Linked DNA regions of Homo sapiens: region 2 is linked to region 1. The links are contacts of gene promoters, found by promoter capture Hi-C in human tissues and cell types (Jung and others, 2019). All regions are on one chromosome and are shown on one strand. The core of a region is centred on a gene start or on the middle of the fragment in contact, and the rest is flanking DNA. Distances in the headings are between cores, read along the strand shown. Region 1 holds the start of MTHFSD (methenyltetrahydrofolate synthetase domain containing). Region 2 overlaps FBXO31 (F-box protein 31).

Region 1 (7,114 bases), core at 3,363-5,862:
GGCTCCCCTGCCTGGTGTGGTCTCATTCAGTCTTCTATCTGTTGTTTGCCTCACCACCCCCATACAGGGAAGACAGGCAGGGGCCTGGTCCGCCCTGTGCACAGCTCTGCTTGACACAGACTCCATGAGACTCCATGTTCTTTTTTTTTTTTTTGAGACAGAGTTTCGCTCTTGTTGCCCAGGCTGCAGTGCAACGGTGCAATCTCGGCTCACCGCAACCTATGCCTCCCAGGTTCAAGTGATTCTCCTGCCTCAGCCTCCTGAGTAGCTAGGATTACAGGCATGTGCCACCACGCCCAGCTAATTTTGTATTTTTAGTAGAGACGGGGTCTCTCCATGTTGGTCAGGCTGGTCTCGAACTCCCGACCTCAGGTGATCCTCCCGCCTCGGCCTCCCAAAGTGCTGGGATTACAGGCATGAGCCACCGTGCCCGGCCACAGACTCCATGTTCTTAACTATACATTGAACAAATGGGGCTTCAGAGATACGCAGCCCTCCCCCACTTCACTGCCTGCCCAACCGTAACTCACAGGCCTTGCCTCCCATTTGTGGCTCAAGCCCAGGATTTGTTTCAAACATTTACTAGCACTTATTTTAGGCAGACACTGCATAAGAAATGGGGACTCATCGTCAAGTGCTCCCTGGCTCCCAAGCTGTGGCAGGCGCATGGATGATGACAGGCTGAAACTTTATTTTAGGTCAATGCTCGTAGAGAGCTCTCCCTGCATTCTAGGTGCTGTTCTCCGGGCCGCATGGATCCGGCACTTCACCGTCACCAGCGTGGAGAGGCGGATGCCAACGGTGCTCCTATCTCCACTCCGCAAATGAAAAGCAAGGCACAGAGACGTTCAGTGACGCCCCCGGCCTCACGCAGCTAGAGAGCTGCAGACCTGGGATTTGAACCAGCCAGGGAGCAGGCTCAAACCTCCACCGCGGTGCCGTCCCTGCCGCAGGATGGTGCAGGGAGGGAGGGGCCAGGCTGAGCAAGCTCAGAAGAATGAGTAAGGGGGGACGAGGCCGTGTGAGTTTCTTGGAGAAGTTGGCAACAGACTGGGGGCCCTTTCGGCTTGCCAGCTTGAACAAATGAAAATAACAATGCCCACAGACTGCATGGAACGTGCTTATACTAAAAATGAAAAAAAAAATCGCTTTATCTGAAGTTCAAGTTTAACTGGGAAACCTGTATTTAATCTGGCAACCTCTAATGTGAGGGAAAGAATTCTTCAAATACCTTTTCAGTTATTAGCTTATTAAACAATCTTACATTTTGTTAAGTTGGTTGGTGCAAAAGTAATTGCGGTTTTTGCCATTACTTTGAATGTAGATTGAAAGTATAACTGAAGCTACTGGATGTAGTTTCGGAGAACTATGATGTTTAAAGTTCACCGTAAAAGGGAACACAGCTTGGAGATTCAGAGCCACGCTCTTCATGCCTAGGCAGACTCACCATTTCTACGCTATTCCTTCCAGCCAGGTTCTAAAAGATGCCTGTGACAAGCTTTGCAATCCTCCGTGAACCCGCACAGGAATAGTTATAGCAGGTTTCTGTGTATTTGCTAAAACGTAGGGGCAACTGAGGGGTCCTGCAGTGCGTGAATGGATAAACCGTGGGACACCAACACGATGGAATATTACTCAGCACTAAAAAGAGAGGACCCTCCGGCCATGGAAAGACATGGAAGAACCTTAAATGCATATTACTAAGCGCGAGAAGCCTGTTTGAAAAGGCTACATAGTGTATGATTCCAATTATTGACTTTCTGGAAAAGAAAAAGCCATGGAGAAAGAAAAGAGACCAGTAACTGCCAGGGGTTAGCAGGCAGGCAGGGAGGGAGGAAGAGGCAGAGCACACAGGATCTGTAGGGCAGTAAAAATATTCTGCCTGATACTCCAGGGATGGGCACATGCCATTATGCATTTGTCAAAACCCCAGAACATACAGAAAGCCTGAGCTCTAATGTAAACCATGGCTGTTGGATGATAACAATGTATCAGTGTAAGTTCATTGTAACAAATGTACCATTCCACAGCAGGATGTTGATAGTGGGGGAGGCTGTGTATAAATGCAGCCGCAGGGGTTGTATATGGGAACTCTCTGTACTTTCTGCTCAATTTTGCTGTGAAGTAAAACTTTTCTTTTTTCTTTACTTTGAAACAGTCTCGCTCTGTCGCTCAGGTTGGAGTGCAGTGGCGTAATCTTGGCTCACTGTAACCTCTGCCTCTTGGGTTCAAGTGATTCTCCTGCCTCAGCCTCCTGAGTAGCTGGGATTACAGGCGCGAGCCACCACCCCCAGCTAATTTTTTGTATTTTTAGTAGAGATGGGATTTCACCATGTTGTCCAGGCTGGTCACAAACTCCTGACCTCAATTGATCTGCCCACCTCAGCCTCCCAAAGTGCTGGGATTACAGGTGTGAACCACCACTCTTGGCCAAACCAAAACTTTTCTAAATGATAAAATCTACCAAAACAAAAAAAAATCCTGAAGTGCCCAAATGCAAATTTACACATATGATTGAGTTTTAAGTATTTGAGTTAAGGTTCAATAGCATCTTCTTTTTTTAAAATTTTATTTTAAGTTCCAGGATACATGTGCAGGATGTGCAGGTTTGTTACATAGGTAGTAAATGTGTGCCATGGTGGTTTGCTGCTCCTGTCAACCCATCACCTAGGTATTAAACCCCACATGCATTAGCTATTCATTCTGAAAGCATCTTCCTTTCATAAAAGAGCCAGTTGATTTTTTCTAAGGGGTCTCTTATTACTACTATTTATTATTTTTATTTATTATTATGTTTTTCAAAGAGGAGTTCTGGCTGTGTCGCCCAAGTGGAGTACAGTGGTGCCATTATAGTTCACTGCAGCCTCAAACTCCTGGGCTCAAGTGATCCTCTGCCTCACCCCCTCAAGGAGCTGGGGGTAAATGCTCTGAGGCACTTCTAACTTGAAAACATGGAACTGAAGAGAATGCCCTTCCTAGCACCACCTGCTTTCTAAAATTGCCACTGGCAGATTGTCCCTGGCGTCTCGTTACCATCTGGGGGCCGTGCCAGGCTGACCATCGGAGAGACTTGGGCTCTGTTTTGAGCACAGCTGGGTAACAGAATCCTGCACACACTTCCACTACTGGCACCAAGTCTACTTGCATAAAACACTCTGCAGATCTACTGTGCTTCCATGAAAGGCGGAAAGGACATCCAACCTCTGTGAGAGATTTTATTTTATCACCTCCAAAATGATGTTTGCACTGCTTTTGCCAGCCTGGTGAAAGACAGGCCCGCCCACAAGCAGAACTGAGGCTCCTCGGTGTCTCTATGTATTAATGTTGCGGACACCACATAGGAAGAGAGAGTTGTGATGGGACCCACAGGAGTTGCAATTAAGCACGTTGTCAGGGCTACACGCTCTGCCCTTTCTCTGCTGGGAGACTCAGGCCAAGCTTCTTTAACATGTCTGAGCCTCTGTTGCCTCCTGCGTAGGAGGCGGGTCACATTTGCCTCTGAGGGTTTGCTGTGAAACATAGTTAGCTATGACTTTTAAGGCGCTAAGCTCAATGCCTGGCATATCGTAGCACTGTTAATTACCATTATTAATTATGTCCTAAGGAGGTCAAACGGCACATTATGAGTTACCAGCAGACATGAGTAAGTCGCTTGTACACGGAACACCATTTTCTGTATCTGTTAAGTAGGCGGGCATTCAAACTCTTTTGTCTGTTTCCCAAGTGTGTTGTGAGGATCTCATAAAGTTTTGGGCATGCAATTTCGAAAGGTGGCAGCCACGTTTTGAGTGCTTGTGATGTACCAGGCACGTGGCTACGGGGATGCCTTCATTCGCTCAGGGAGTGGTTCCTAGTGGCTGGTCCCTGACATCTGTGTGTGTGCTGGGTGGGGGTGTGGGATGTCTTCTTCCTAATAAGTGAATGAACTGCCAGGCTGAACGCCCTCGTTTTCTTCCCGCGGGGCTGGGGCCAGAGAGGGAATGGACGTGACGGTCTGTGCAGCCTGGTCTCCTCGAGCCGCTTCTCGACCCTTAGGTTAGCAAACATGAAAGACATAGACAAGCAGACGCAGGCTGCCACGTTCGTTCTTTCTCAGGGTATGCAGAGGTCAGGGTAAGAATCCACGGGTGTTTCTCAAAGGATGGCCTCTGGCCGTCCGCAGCGCAGTCGCCGGGGCTGGGCTGGCCTCGAATTTCCATCTGCCTGCCGCTTTAAAGAGCTGCCGGCTGAATCCGCTGCACACCCACGTGTGAGCACCTGAGAGTCTGCAGGATCTCAGAGGAGGGAACCGCGTCCTACATGAGGAGCAATCAAGGCCGGCTTTCCGGAGGAGGCGGCCTCTAGGACTGGAAGAGGAGGCGGGATGTGTTTCAACCGGCAATGGGTCCCGAGAGACCAGGGACTTGTTCACTTCAGTAACTCCAGGGCTTGGCAAAACGCCTGTCACGGGCGGCGCTCGACAATGACTAGCTGAAAGCAAGAGCGAAGGGCCTGGGAGCATCCCTGACTGTCCCCGGCGCGGATTTTACCCGCCCGAGCATGCGCGCCTGGGCCTCGCCCGCTCAGCCTCCGCCCCTCCTACCATCGCGCAGGCGCGGAGCGGGTGACGTCACTACGCGCCAGAACCTGCGCCGGGAAGCGTCGCACAGCGACTGCATCACCATGGAGCCGAGGGCAGGTGGGGGGCCTGGCGGGGCTCCGGGGCGGCTGGGAATGGGGAGGGACAGCCGGGACCGGTGAGGGTCGAGGCGGGGCCACCGGGGCTGGCAGAGGATGGGGCAGAATCACCGGAAGCGGCCGAGGAGGTCAGAGGGGGTCTGTGCTGGGTTCGGGTCGAACCAGCGGCTCTCTCGCCCGGAATCCCGAGAAAGATGTCAGGAAAAATAAAGATAACGAGAAGACGAGGCGGGAGGGACACCTGCCGTGCACGTGGGGGAGCCCGTGGGCCCCTTGAGGTCGGGGAAACTGAGGCTCAGGAACAGGATCGGAAGCCGGTTTGACCTACACGCGGGGGTCGCTTAACTACTGTTAAGCGGTTTCAGCATGGGCTCTGGAATTCCTTTGTATGTTATTAAGTGGGAATCTTTTGTTGCAGTAGGTGTCTCCAAACAGGACATACGTGAACAAATTTGGGGCTACATGGAATCACAAAATTTAGCTGACTTTCCCCGACCTGTTCATCACAGGATACCCAACTTTAAGGTACTGACATATTTCTGGAGTCCAGAAAAGGAAAACAAAATATTCTTAAATGAATAACACTAGTAATAAAATTCTCTTACTGCGTCATGGTGGATGAGAATGTGGCGAGCAGTGAGCAGTGGTGTGAAATCAAAGCCATTTGGCCAGGGCGTCCTTAGCATTTAGAGACGTCATTTACTCTTCACCTGGGGCCTCTTGCGTCTCTGTGCAGGGTGGTTTGGTTGTCTCTAGGTGAGGTTGTGTCCAGAATTGGTGGGTTCTTGGTCTCACTGACTTCAAGAATGAAGCCTCGCAGTGAGTGTTACAGTTTTTAAAGGCAGCGTGTCTGGAGTTTGTTCCTTCTGATGTTTGGATGTGTTCAGAGTTTCTTCCTTCTGGTGGGTTCACGGTCTTTGCTGGCTTCAGGAGTGAAGCTGCAGACCTTAGCAGAGAGTGTTGCAGCTCACAAAGGCAGGGTGGACTCAAAGAATGAGCAGCAGCAAGATTTATTGCAAAGAACAAACCTTCCACAATGTGGAAGGGGATTGGAGAGGGTTGTTGCTGCTGGTTCAGGCAGCCTGCTTTTAATCTCTTATCTGGCCCCACCCACATCCTGCTGATTGGTCCATTTTACAGAGAGCCGATTGGTCCGTTTTGACAGGATGCTGATTGGTGCGTTTACAATCCCTGAGCTAGACACAAAAGTTCTCCACCTCCCCACTAGATTAGCTACATACAGAGTGCCCATTGGTGCATTCACAAACTCTGAGCTAGACACAGGGTGCTGATTGGTGTGTTTACAATCCCTTAGCTAGACATAAAGATTCTCCAAGTCCCCACCAGCCTCAGGAGCCCAGCTGACTTCACCCAGCAGATCCCGCACTGGGGCTGCAGGTGGAGCTGCCTGCCAGTCCCGTGCAGTGCACCCGCACTCCTCAGCCGTTGGGCAGTGGATGGCACCAGGCACCGTGGAGCAGGAGCGTCGCTCCTCGGGGAGGCTCTAGCTGCACAGGAGCCCGCCGGTGGGGGTGGGGAGGCTCAGGCATGGCAGGCTGCAGGTCTTGGGGAGGCAGCTAAGGCCCGGCGAGAAATAGAGCACAGCAGCTGGTGGCCCAGGTGCTAAGCCCCTCACTGCCCAGGGCCAGCCGCTGTGAGTGCGGGGCTCCCCACGCCTACATGGAACTCGCGCTGGCCCACAAGCACCATGCACAGCAGCAGTTCCCGCCCGCGCCTCTCCCTCCACACCGCCCAGCAAGCTGAGGGAGCCGGCCTGGGCCAGTCCAGAAAGGGGCTCCCACAGTGCAGCTGCGGGATGAAGGGCTCCTCAAGCACGGCCAGAGTAGGCGCCAAGGCCGAGGAGGCGCCGAGAGGGACCGAGGGCTGCCAGCACGCTGTCACCTTTCAAGGTGGTGCTAGTTGCTGTTTTCTGTTTGATACAAAGTAAAATATTTATCCTGGCCGGAAGCATGTTATTGTCGTAATGGCTTTTCACAAAATTGACCCTGCTAAGAGCGTTAGGGAATGAAGGGGTACTGAACTGGAAGTTCAGGCTCTAGGCCTTTGGAAAGAAATGAATGCCTTGCCAGCCTAAGGATGCTGGGCCTCAGTTTCCCAGCTGATCAAAATGTAAGACAATCAAAGATGGCTGTTCCTAACAGTGTTGACAGAAAAAAAAAAGGTTACTCGGAAGAGGCAATGCAGCAGTTCATCATCTTTGACATGCCTATTTTCCAAGAGCAAAAGAAAGCGCTTTTCAAAAATGCTCTCTGCCCTGAAGGACTTAGCTGTTGGCTTGCTTCACCCCATTTTGTCAGGACTGCCTCTCCCCAAGCCTGGCTTCTCCACAACAAGCTCCACCTTCCCTGGTCCTCAGCTGAGGTGGTTCCAAGACTGTCCTGTCCCTTTGAAAAACTGATCTTTTGATGGTTTTTTG
Region 2 (7,114 bases), core at 2,088-4,587, 800 kb before region 1:
AGAGGTTTGCTGAGTAGCAGCCACCTCGCCTTGACTGCTGTCTCCACCCTGTCTGCTTCTCGAGCTTTACTTTGAGTACGGTCAGTGCTTCCAGTTAGAGAAGCATTTGGGGTAATAGCATCCATGCTATTGAAAAGAAGGGATGAGGCCTCTGCGCGAGTAGGGCTTATCAAAAGGCATGTGATGAGGGGCAGCACTTTGGAGCTACCTGGCTAGCCTGACCGCATCGTATCGACGTTCCTGTATTGTGACTGCTGAATGAGCTCTGATGGCCATCAACTTCACTGGGCCTCGGTTTCCCTCGCTGCCACAGGGAGGGTCCTGACCTTCAAGGTCACTGTCAGGCTCTCACGCCTGCACAGGGCATAACACAGTCAGTGTGAGCTGCAGTGGTCCATGTGGAGACCCAGCCACCTCGTCCCGTCTCCTGTGTTGTGCCCCTGCCACATTCTCACTGCGAAGGAAGCTTTTTGATCTAGGCTTCAATTCTTGGTCCCAGCTGACCATAAGCTCCAGGTCCTTTGTGGAGTCATGTCACCTCTCTGCACTTGTTTTCTCTGTTAAAATGGAGATGACAGTGGTGACTCTCTTATGGGACTGCTGTAGGATGCAGTGAGGTGATGCCCAGCATGGCTTGGCATGGTACACAGCACGTGGAAAGCTCAATGCAGGTGTTGCCAGTAGCAGCTCTTGGCCCATGTGCAGTTCTGTAGTTGTGTGGATTAGTCCCTGGCGGTCTTTCCTTTCAAAGGCTAGCGGAGACCCAAGCCGGAGGACCTGGGATTTTGCTTGGGACGTGCTGGGTGTTGGTGATTGTGAAAAGTGCAGCTGTGGTGGGGTGGGAGTAGGGGACAAAGAGGAAGGTGCTGTCAGCAGGTGAGGGTGTGAGGACAGGGGTTGCGGGAGGTGTCCAGGGCCCTGCACTGGGCCCTGGCCAAGCCTAGCCAGTGGAGAAGGGACAATGTTCACCCCTTCCCCCATGTCTTGCACGGTCCCCTCTTGGCCTTGGGCTGAGTTGAACACACAGGCAGCACAGGGAAGTACATGGGGTGGACTGGCCTCTGGCACTGTCTGAACCCTAACACCAGTGGTGAATTTGTTTCCATGGAAACATGGCACTGTGTCCAGACAACTGAATTCTGCCTCACCTTGTTCATAAACTAGGGATTGTCTGATATTGGTTTGTGTGGTTAGGCTTCTAGAGCTTATTAGAATAGACATTGCAGATTATTATTTTGTAAAGGGTGACATTGACTAAAATAGAATAATGTCTTCATCGGTGAACAAGGGTGTTTACTGAATGTGGAGAAGTCAGTGAAATCTCCACAGTGACAGATGCACTCTGGAGATGGGGCTGAGGCTAGGTGTGCACCTCCCCTGCCAGCCATCAGCAGCCTGCCCACGTCTGTCGCGTTATGAGTTGTTGATCTTAAATTTCTGCAAATGTTTCTTGTTACAGAGTATGGTGTTTGCGAAAACTTGCGGAAGCTGGAGATCACAGGCGTGTCTTGTCGGGACGTCTATGCGAAGCGTGAGTGAATCTATTTGTTACCATCCATGATTAACTTTGTACCAGAAGCAGACAGTGCACATCAATGACAAATAATCAAAGTGATTTAGTCCACACTTTTGTTTTCTCAGACACCATCTTACAGTCACATTTTGAATAGAGCACTGGTAGTAACAGCACTAAAATTAGGGAGGGGACACCGTATTCTCCCATTCTGGGCATCGTAGATACTAGTGTCTTTTACCAGGCATCGAGGCCCTTTAGAGCTGAGAAATGTAGGCTGCACCAGAGCGACTTGGGTGTTCCTGGAGGCTGCCTGTTTCTCTGGCTTCTGGGCCTCCAGCCTTCAGGATGGGACTGCCTGTGGTCATTGGGAAATGAAGCTGTGGTGCCTTCTGTCCAAGCCCCAGGTACGGAGAACAGCCCCCCTGCTAGAGTTCTCCTTCCCTTTAGCATTCTGTGAGCAGGCTGAGCCCCCCAGCCCCGTTTCATGTTTCTCTGGTTCACCCGCTTTCCAGAGTCAACTGTGACACTCACCGATCAGGCAGAGGCTCCTTGGCCCCAGGCTGTCTTCCCGCGGGTGTTTCTTCAGTGCCAGGGACTTTCCCATTTCTTGCTCACTGGACGAAGCTCTTGGCTTTTTTGGATGGTCAGAGGGTTTCTGTGAGTGTCTCATACCCCACGTTTTCATCTTCTGACCATTCTTTGAGCTTCTTTTCTTTTTTCTTTTTCATTTCTGCAAGGCAGTTGCTCTTTGAGTTTCTTAGGCCATTTGGGTCATATCATCTCAAAGTGACATGAAGACATATTTCTCTCTAAGAGTTGTCAGCACCAAAAGTCATGTCCCGGTAGGGACACAGGTGTTTGGCCTGCCCAGGTGTTAGGGTTTCCTGTAACAGCCATAGGAGTGTACACATGGATGCTCCTTCCAGCTGTGGGGGTCGGAGGTGTTGCCTGAGCACTGAGTCCTCCTGTCCTGTGGGAGAGGCCATCCGGGCATAGGCAGGCAGGAGGCAGTGTGGCCGAGGGTAGGGCAGGGGGTGGGCACAGAAGAGGGGATAGGAGGACAGGGCATTGGGAGATTTCTTTTCACTGCTGATTCTTGACCCCTTGAAAGTGTTTGCAAAATGCGGAGAATTCACATGATCTGTTTCCGACAGTGTTTATTCCCCGCAGTGTTAGTCTGCAGTGGCCAAAGCAAATGTCAGTGTTCATTTTCACAGCGCAGCAACTGTGTTTCTGTGAATTTGCTTTAAGGCTTATCCAGGAGAAAATTACTTAGCTTTGGGAACAGGTGGTGGAAGAAAATCAGCCTTAGCTCCAGAAACGGGTGGTGTAGTTGGGCAACCTTGGATGACCTGTGACGAGGCTGGCCTGAGTTAGCAGGCTGGGAAACGCCAGGTGGGTGCTGGGCAAAGTGAGTATGTTAGCCGGGGTAAGTGTTCTCTAGACGGTCATCCCAGATGCTCACCTGCCAGGACACCTGCCCTCCCACCTCCTGAGCCCCAGTGAGCTGTGGCCTGGGGCCTGCCGGGAGTGTGCTGGCCCCGGGAGGAGTGTGATCAAATATGGAAAGGATTTCCAAGCTTGCTGCCACCGTGAGTTTCTGGTGGCACCACTGATGGAAGGAAAACGTGTCACAGTGTTGTTCTCTCCAGCAGGTTTCTCAGAGCCACCTCTCTGTGTCCTGGGTGGCTGCATAAACACGAGGGGATTGTATCACACTGGTGAGGGGCAGGCATTGGGTCGTATTCACGCTGTTTGCACAGTCCTGTAAAGGGAGCCATCCTTAGCCCTTTCCCTGCTGTGTCTGTTCAGGTATAAACCCTCGCGTGAAGTCGGGACGTTTTGTGAAAATTCTCCCTGATTATGAGCACATGGCGTACAGAGACGTTTACACCTGCCGTATGTACCTCCTGCGAGCTTTGGCTTCTGCGGCAGCCAGCACGGCCAAGAACTGCATGGGGAGGGCCCTCTGATTCACACATGGGACAGCTTTGGTCCTGGAGCAAGCGGACCTCGTGGCTTTTTGTCATCCTTTCACGTTCACTTGCTGCAGCGTGGCTCTGCTTCAGCTGTGACAGAGATCACACCTGTGTGTTGGACCCAGGCTGCATTTGGCTTACCTTTCTGCAGTGGTTTCTGGGTACTACCAGTCGAGATCACTTTAATGCACATTTTCACATGTATCGTTTATTGAGGAGCTACTGCAGACACAGAGAGGAACGAACAGAGTAGAAGCTTTAAAATTTTATTCTAAAGTGAAATATGAATATTTGACTTCTGACCTTTATTAGTTTTAATCACATTTTAATAGCCTATGTGAATTAAAAATCACATATGCATATACCCTCAATAGACAAAGGCAGGTAGCAACAGTTGACTCCTTTTTTTTTTTTGAGGCAGAGTCTCACTCTGTCACCCAAGCTGGAGTGCAGTGTCACAACCTCTGCCTCCTCGGTTCAAGTAATACTGCCACCTCAGCCTCCCAGGTAGCTAGGATTACAGGCATACACCACCATGCCCAGCAAATTTTTTTGTATTTTTAGTAGAGATGGGGTTTCATCATGTTGGCCAGGCTGGTCTCAAGTGATCTGCCCATCTCGGCCTCCCAGAGTTCTGGGATTACAGGCATGAGGTACCGTGCCTGGCTAACAGTTGACTCTTTAGAACTTAATTCTTCTTTTTGGCCAGACATGGTGGCTAATGCCTGTAATCCCAGTGCTTTGGGAGGCCGAGGCAGGTGGATCATCTGAGGTCAGGAGTTCGAGACCTGTCTGGCCAACATGGTGAAACTCATCTCTACTAAAAGTACAAAAATTAGCTGGGTGTGGTGGCGTGTGCTTGTAATCCCAGGTACCCAGAGGCTGAGGTGGGGGAATCGCTTGAACCCGGGAGGTGAAGGTTGCAGTGAGCCGAGATCACGCCATTGCACTCCAGCCTGGGAGACAAGAGCGAGACTCTGTCTCAAAAAAAAAAAAAAAAAAAGAACCGAATTCTTTTGATGGAGCTCTGGAAATTTTTCTAAGCCACAGTTATAGGAATTTAATGCTGTCTCCACTTTTTTTTTTTGAGACAGGGTCTGTCTTGTTGCCCAGGTTGGAGTGCAGTGGCACAATTACAGCTCATTGTATCCTTGAACTCCTGGGCTGAAGCGATCCTCCTGCCTCAGCCTCCCTAGTAGCTGGGACTAGAGGCGTGTGCCACCATGCCTGGTTAATTTTTCAGTTTTTTGTAGTGACGGGTCTCACTATGTTGCCCAGGCTGGTCTTGTACTCTTGGGCTCATTCATTCCTCCCACCTTGGCCTCTCAAAGTGTTGGGATTGCAGGTGTAGCCATTGCACCTGGCCTGTTTCCACTTTTTATTAGCTCAGAGTGGTTGAGTGGTGATGGAGACAATGAATTTCAGCTGTCCAGAAAGAGATTGAAAACACCTACCTGCCCTAAAAGCTGTGTTGCAGTTTCTAGAGGCTCGTGGAGCCCCTACTACTGCTTTCAGTCCACCCCGATGGCCCATGGGTCAGCATGGTCTGTTGGGAGCAGACCTACATCTTAAGTTTCATAAATGCCCGATTTCTAAAAACACCAACTGAAAGCAGAAAGAGTAATTTCACCTAATGTCCTGCCAGATCTCAGCAGATCACTGCAGCTGGGGAACTGGGTCCCGCTTTACTGAGGGGACCTTCGTGTAGTTGGTGCGGAGGTGCCTGGATTTGGTTAGCACGCTTCAGGGTGGTGTCTGAACCCTTTACACGCCTGCTAACAGCACTGCCTTGTTGAGGTGTGAACTGTCTAGCTGAGTGGAGGCCAGAGCCAGGGGACCTCTCAGGAGTCTGTGGACCTCTCAGGAGTCTGTGGACGGGGAACACGGGGCTGGAAGGGGCCGAGGTGGAAAAGGAGGGGTGGGCAACGTTTGAAGACATTTGTGCCGTTCTAGACTGACCAGCCCTTCCTCTGAGCAGTCAGTGAGGAGAGCTGTGGGAGGGAACAGTCGACTTAGTGAGCGTTGACAACAGTCTCTCCTTGGTGCTGACAGGAATGTGCTGGCTTTTCTTTTCTTTCTTTCTTTTCTTTTTTTTTTTTTTTGAGATGGAGTCTCACTCTGTCACCCAGGCTGGAGTGCAGTGGTGTGATCTCAGCTCACTACAGCCTCTGCCTCCCGGGTTCAAGCAGTTCTCGTGCCTCAGCGTCCCAAGTAGCTGGGACTCCAGGCGCCTGCCACCACGCCCGGCTAATTTTTGTATTTTTAGTAGAGACAGGGTTTCACCATGTTGGCCAGGCTGGTTTTGAACTCCTGACCTCAGGTGATTGGGCAAGGGCTTTTCAATACAAGGGGACAAGCACTGAGAGGCTCCTCATGTCGCATGTCTGTCTCACTATTTCTCTGGAATGTGCACTGTGGACCTGGGATGGAATTCTGACCAGCCTCTGGGGAGGCCGCGCAGCTGGGGCCTAGCGAGTCTTCAGAGTTGCACTGGGGGCAGGGGACATTCCTTTTGTCCCCGAGGCAGGTGGAGGGAAGCTTCATGTAGCTCACGAGGAAGAGACCTCCTCCCCACGCTGCCGGGCTGGCCTCTCGAGCATCCAGGCTGCGCAGCCTCCTATTGTGATGTAGCGCCAGTTGCTTCGAGCTGGCGGCTTTATCATATGTGGGTTTTGATTGACATACTGTTGTTCATGCTGAAGTTTGAGTGTCGTTATAAAAACACAAAGTCATTGTAGAAAACTTGAAAAATTTAGAAAATAAAATGAAAAACAGCAGTTAAACATTGGTTGCATTTCTCTTTGGACAAATTTAAGTGGATGACCTACTAGAATATCAGGAAGAAAAAGTTCTTGTGTGTGAAAAAAGAAAGCCAATTTCAACAGCCTCAACCTATGCCTGTGATGTGTGGGTTTTCAGTATTCAGCTGCTCTTAGTGTGTCTTCATGGAGAGCGTCTCAAAATTTGTTCTCTCACAGCATCCAAACCTTTCGGAAAAGTCTGCCCTGATTGGCTTCTGAGTATTTTGGGGCCGTGCGTGGCTTGTGTTTCCATCATTCACGTGGGCCGTTAACTGGTCGTGTTGAAGTCCTTTGGACCTTGCGCTGTGGGCCCAACATCTTATTTTATTTTATGATAGAGATGGGGGTCTTGCTTTATTGCCCAGGCTGGTCTTAAACTCCTGGCTTCAAGCAATCCTTCTGCCTTGACCTCCCAAAGTGTTGGGATTACAGGCGTGAGCCACTGCGCCTGGCTGAGCTAACATCCCTGAGTGTAGGACTGTCCTGGGTGGGAACAAGCCCATACGGTAGAAGGCTGGGACCCTAATGTTGAGGAATAGTTTCTTTTATTTTTATTTTTTTGAGATTGAGTCTCACCCAGTGTCACCCAGGCTGGAGTGCAGTGGCGCGATCTTGGCTCATTGCAACCTCCACCTCCCGGTTCAAGTGACTCTCTTGCCTCAGCCTCTTGAGTAGCTGGGATTACAGGCATATGCCACCATGCCCAGCTACTTTTTGTATTTTTAGTAGAGACGGGGTTTTGCCAGTTTGGCCAGGCTTGTCTCAAACTCCTGACCTCAGGTGATCCATCTACCTCGGCCACCCAAAGTGCTGGGATT

Evidence for each region. The method cuts DNA at HindIII sites, captures the fragments that hold promoters and counts their contacts. A contact is called where the count stands out against the background at its distance.
Region 2: a contact is called between a fragment that was not itself captured here and the fragment with the promoter of MTHFSD in region 1, in 2 of the 25 tissues and cell types used here (IMR-90 fibroblasts and dorsolateral prefrontal cortex).

Annotation. Positions count from the first base shown.
Region 1 is chr16:86,552,733-86,559,846 of GRCh38, reverse strand. It overlaps MTHFSD (methenyltetrahydrofolate synthetase domain containing), which reads left to right and starts at 4,612. Exons shown (of 8, transcript NM_001159377.2): 1 at 4,612-4,678; 2 at 5,096-5,202. The coding sequence starts at 4,663. It overlaps FLJ30679 (a long non-coding RNA gene), which reads right to left and starts at 4,527. Exons shown (of 1, transcript NR_026674.1): 1 at 2,548-4,527. RefSeq lists enhancers at 4,330-4,619, 4,660-4,709, 5,678-6,340, 6,341-7,005 and a silencer at 4,542-4,755. The HindIII fragment of the contact is 6,717 bases long and covers 2,469-7,114 here.
Region 2 is chr16:87,354,712-87,361,825 of GRCh38, reverse strand. FBXO31 (F-box protein 31) reads left to right here. Exons shown (of 9, transcript NM_024735.5): 2 at 1,460-1,531. Among named protein-coding and RNA genes, the nearest start is that of FBXO31, 26 kb to the left of the region's middle. The HindIII fragment of the contact is 3,111 bases long and covers 1,782-4,892 here.